Regions from separate parts of the Homo sapiens genome. Here region 2 is linked to region 1. The links are contacts of gene promoters, found by promoter capture Hi-C in blood cells and fetal thymus (Javierre and others, 2016). All regions are on one chromosome and are shown on one strand. The core of a region is centred on a gene start or on the middle of the fragment in contact, and the rest is flanking DNA. Distances in the headings are between cores, read along the strand shown. Region 1 holds the start of PLCG1 (phospholipase C gamma 1). Region 2 has its middle 79 kb from the start of CHD6.

The links. Contacts are between HindIII fragments. The CHiCAGO score rates a contact against its expected background, and 5 or more counts as called.
Region 2: a contact is called between a fragment that was not itself captured here and the fragment with the promoter of PLCG1 in region 1, in 4 of 17 cell types (naive CD8 T cells, activated CD4 T cells, total B cells and 1 more). The highest score is 9.7, in naive CD8 T cells.

Annotation. Positions count from the first base shown.
Region 1 is chr20:41,136,272-41,138,792 of GRCh38, reverse strand. PLCG1 (phospholipase C gamma 1) reads right to left here and starts at 1,250. Exons shown (of 32, transcript NM_002660.3): 1 at 935-1,250. The coding sequence starts at 1,151. LOC124904903 (translation initiation factor IF-2-like) reads left to right here and starts at 1,280. Exons shown (of 2, transcript XM_047440629.1): 1 at 1,280-2,521. The coding sequence starts at 1,454. The coding sequence ends at 2,035. It overlaps PLCG1-AS1 (PLCG1 antisense RNA 1), which reads left to right and starts at 793. Exons shown (of 7, transcript NR_109889.1): 1 at 793-1,079. RefSeq lists enhancers at 133-212, 361-460, 382-1,166, 1,951-2,521 and silencers at 611-870, 991-1,980. The HindIII fragment of the contact is 8,103 bases long and covers 1-2,292 here.
Region 2 is chr20:41,696,545-41,699,065 of GRCh38, reverse strand. No RefSeq gene overlaps it. Among named protein-coding and RNA genes, the nearest start is that of CHD6, 79 kb to the right of the region's middle. The HindIII fragment of the contact is 500 bases long and covers 1,012-1,511 here.

The sequences.
Region 1 (2,521 bases), core at 1-2,500:
CCCACTAGAGACCAGCGCAAAAGCAGCCAAGCTCAGGCCTGGGAAGGCGAAAAGGCAGGAAACTAAGAGAAGCCGCTCCCGCTCCCTGAAGCCACCGGACAGAGGACAAAGGGCTAGACTCACAAACTAGCTGCACTCCTGAGAAGAATACCTGACTCCAAGGCGCTGGGGCAGGCCTTTATGGGGCCCATCTCCTGGGAACGTGCTTCCCAGGGCAAGGGGAGTCCCTGCCCTGGCATTGAGTGTCTGCCCACCCACATAGGCCTCCAAAACCCAGCTTTGGGACAAAAGTAGCAGAAAAAAAAAAAAAAAAATTCCAGCCACTGGCTTCTCTCAGGCTTCTCCAAACCAAACAAGACCACCTTCCTCCCTCTCCCCCAGAGGGAGATGAGTAGGCCCAGCTCTGCTCCAAGACCAGCCCTACCCAACATCTGCCTAAGTTCTACTTAGGGAACCCAAAGATTCCTTTGCAAATAAGAGCCCAGCCTGGGGGCCCGGAGAGTTTCACAGACTGCTCTTTCTGGATAAAGAGTGGGCGGGGACCGTCTGGTCAGGCCCCAGGTTCCCGTGCAGGGTGGGGGCCACTGCCTTAGCTCCCCTCGCCGACGCCGCCACCACTCCCAGGGTCTGGGGGGCCCGATGCCTGCACCGCAGGTCTCCAGCCCGCGAGGATTTTTAGGCCTCAGGGCAAAGCGCCTGGAACACTCCCCCCAGCTGGGGGAGGGGGGGTGTCCTGTCAGGTGACCGAGGACCCGGATGCCCCCCGCCCCCAGTGACCACCCGAGACGAAGCGGGGGCGGGGCCCGGAGGGAGTCTGGGAGGGCCCGAAAGTTTGCCCAAGTCGCTGGGGCGGCCGGCCGGGGTGCAAGCAGTCGGGCCGGGCTCCCACGACCCCCGCGCGGGGCGGGCCCAGGCAGGAAGTGGGCGCACTTACTGGCCCCCTCGATCTTGTCGGCGCCCCGGCTCCACGTGATCTGGCGCGTCTCCAGCTTGACCTGGAAGGTCTTCCGCTCGGGTCGCTGCGACTTCTTGGAGTAGAACAAAGTCATGACGGTGCCCACCTCGAGGCTGCGGCAGAGGTGCAGCACCTCGGCGTCCGAGGGCGCGCCGGGCCCGCAGCCGTTGGCGCAAGGGGACGCGGCGCCCGCCATGGCTCCGACGCTGGGGGCGGCGGCGGCACAGGCCAGGACCGCCCGGGAGCAAGCGCAACGGCGGCGGCTGAGGTTGGGGCTGAGGCTGAGGCGGCAGACGAGCGGGACCCGGCGGCGGCTCCTGCAGGCGGACACGGGGCGGGGCCTCAGCGCGGCGGGGCGGGGCTGCCCTGAGGCCCCACCCCGCTTCGGCGCCGGGAACAAAGGCGCCCGCGCACCCGTGGGGAGGACCCCCGCCCGTCGGCCCGCCGCGCCTGCGCCCCGCGACCCCCAGACAGGCCGCAGGCGGGGACGGAGGCGCGATGGCGGCGGGAGCGCGCGCCGTTCCCGGTCGACCCACCCAGCCCTCAGTCCCGCAGAGCTTTCTCACGCGGCCCCGGACACAGCCCGGCGGCCACGAGCGGCCCTGTCACGCACGGCAGCCCCGCCCACAGGCCGCAGGCCCGGCGGCCGGCGCGTCAGTCAGGCGTACTCGCACGGGCGGCCGCTACCCCGCGGTCCCGCACAGACGCAGCCCCCGCGTCCCGAACACCGCCCATGCAGCGACCGGGACGGGACGTGAGGGGATGGCGCGTCCTCCGGGAATGCCCGGCCAAACTCAGTTACCTGGGCGGGCTTCCCGGACAAGGGAGCCAGGACGGGCCGCCTCACACCGGCGGCGGCGGGTCCTCCGCGCGCCCTCTCCCGGGAGGGGCGGGGGCGGGGCTGCCTGCGGATTGGTCGCGGGCACTGATGGACAGCCGACATGTCCCGCCCCCCCGGCAGCGCGGGGCTGGTCCGCAGGCAGTTCTGGCGACGGCCAGACCCACGTCTGTCTGTTCCGCCCCTGCTGCCAGGGTGGCTTTCAGTGGTCCTCTCTTTCGGAGAGTTCCCCCCAAGCGTGAGCACCCCTTACAGGGGCGTTAGGTCCGCGGCCGCGCTGTCCAGTGGTCTGACCTGCAGCTCCCAGGGCCTTTGTGTCTGTCCCTCGCATGGGCCTCTGCACGCTCCGTCCCCACGCGACAGGACTCGAGTCCGATTCGGGGCTCCGACTCAGACCCTACCCCGCAGCGCCCTCCTGCAAATGCTCTCCTGAACTTTGGTTTTCCCCGCCTTGCTTTCTTCCTCCTCCTGTAGCCGCTGCCTCTCGATCTCAGAAGCTTCTCTTCCTCTGCACTCAGTGCTAGGCCAGATCCCAAGGCGACCTGACCTTTCCCCTGGCTTTGCCCAACAACACAGGCACCGGTGACTCCAAACCTGCATCTCCCCTACGTTCCAGGCCCCAGCATCCCACTGCATGTTCCACATCCCCCCCCCTTAGACAGCTCGCCTTCCCTCCCCAAACGATTCCTTCCACAGTCTTCACTTTCTCAGAACGCGGCGCTAAACTT
Region 2 (2,521 bases), core at 12-2,511, 560 kb before region 1:
TCTCCTGTATTCTGTTTTTGGTGGGGTGTTTTTGTTTTTGTTTGTTTGTTCGAGACAGGGTCTTGCTCTGTCACCCAGGCTGGAGTGCAATGGCATGAACACAGCTCACTGCAGCCTCAACCTCCTGGGCTTAAGCAATTATCCCGCCTCAGCCTCCGTAGTATCTGGGACTACAGACTCACACCACCATGCCTGGCTAGTTTTTGTATTTTTTGTAGAGACGAGGTCTCATTTTGTTGTCCAGGCTGGTCTCTAATTCCTGGGCTCAAGCAATCCTCCTGCCTCGGCCTCCCAAAGTGCTGGGATTATAGGCATAAGCCACTATGCCCGGCCCTGCTTCTCCTGCATTCTGCTGGTGACACAGACCATTACTGCTGCTACATGGGAGGGGACCAGATAGGGTTTGAAAACCAGGAGGCAGGATCATTGGTGGCCCTCTTAGAAACTGCTTACCACAGTCTCCAAGAAGAACCCCCTCTCCCCCAAACTCCACCTAAACTCTGGAACAGGGAGGTGTGCAGATTTCACTGTTTCAAACTACGGAGGCCCACAACAAACAGTGAATTTACTCTGTCCTGGAAACTCATGTTTTAAGCCCAGTAGAACTGCTTTTCCTCAATTATACTTGAGCGTCATGCCATAGGCCTGCATAAAAGGACATTATAAGAAACAGCTCCAATTAAGTCACCGCTGTATTGCATCACTGTTCAGTCAGCTGACCCACGGGAAAAATATCTCTTTGGTCTCAGGGTCAGGAAAAGTTGAGCTTCTCCCAAATATTTGTTTTTCTCACATAAAATCTAGAATTTTATTACCACTCACATTTCCCTCTTTACTTTGGCCATTTGGAAGCTCGGAGCCAAATGTGTAAGCCTTTGCTGGTGTTGATCTTTTTGAGCTAATGTCATCCTGGAGTTATTTCTTCCACTTGTTTTCTATTTTCTCCAGCTACCTCAACTTTTTGTCTTATCCTTTTGTATATTTTGTACTTTTGTAATTCCCCTCAAAGCTTTTGTGGATTGAGATGGAGTTTAAATACACAATAAAATTAGTTTTTGCCCAAAAGACTGATGACCTGCATGTGCCATCTAGTGGTGAGAGAGACAACTGCCAGAATAGAAACCTCCCTGATTTTTCAGATGTGTTTTAGATGGGAGAGTGGTGAGTAGTGGGCAAGGGAAGAGGAGGGAGACCGGGCCCCCTCTGTGTGCTTTGTCAGGAAATTGAAACTGCTGAGGATTAAAGAGCCTCTAGGCAGGGCCAAGGAGCAGGTGATTCAATGGCTGGAAATGAAGATGATTTATCAGAATCTGAAGAAACAATCAAAAAATAGTGAAGAATGAGGAAGGCACTGGAAGTGGAAGGGTTAAGAAAAAAAACTGTTAGTAAAAGTAAACAATGAAAATGGACCTAATTGAAGCAAGTAATCACTTGAAAGGTGCTTAATGTAGGTTGATCACAGATGTGACCAGCCATTTTTTAAACATTCACATTAACTGTAGAAAGAAGCTTAGAGTCCAATGTTTTTATTTTACTTGAGAGAAAACTGGGGCACAGAAGCATTGAGCATCTTGTTCAAGGTCATACAGCCTATGAGCCCCAGGTCCAGGGTAACTCCTAGATCAGTCCTCTTTCCCCAGCACCACCCTACTCCTAACTGTATATAGCAGATGCTCATTTGGGCTTTCATTTTGCACACAGGGTTTCACAAGAAAAATGAGGTCATTACATAAAAATGCTGGATCCAGCATATTTTCAATGAATTATTACTAGCTGGTTTTGTAGCTACCCCCCTGACCTACCCCCAAAATGTCAGGGTGGTGGTTCAAAGCACTGGCTTCGTTAATCTTCACCATGTGGCAAGTCATCAGTTCACAATGATAGAGAAGGATTCCAGAAGCCAATGGCAGTAGGTGAGGGAGCCCCAATCTGGGGAAGAGAAAGTAAATTCACTCATCTACCATGTTAACCTAGCATCTGCTCTGGGCCAAGTTCTAGGCAGTTTGCTGGGGTGGCAATATCAACAATGCACTGGCCATGTCTGGAGCTATACGTATCCCATCTCCCTGTACCCTGACCTGTGTTCTTGGACACAACTTCAGCTAAAACTGAGGCATAGCTTGGATCTGGAGGGCCCTTGAAGACCTAGCCCAGGGATCTGTAGTCTCAAGTTGAATGTCTTGGAAACAGCCTGAAGTCAGGAACCAATGAGGGGGCTGGAGATACTGTCTAAAAAGGAACTTGAGACATTCCCATACTGGAAAGCACAAATATGGAACATTTTACTCATCTGAAAGAGTTCTATTAAACAGCACTGGCCAAGAGTGCCCTTTCCTGGATTTTCTGCTCCTCTGAGTCCTACCAGTTCTCCTAAGCCCTTCAGCAGCTGATATCAGCAGAGACTGATATGAGTCACTGATTCCTGGAAAAGACAGAACTCTGGTACAATGGCTGTTCCAAGTTGATGTCCTCAGAGGTACAAATGACACACCAGAGACAGAAGTTGTTTCTTAAACTTTCC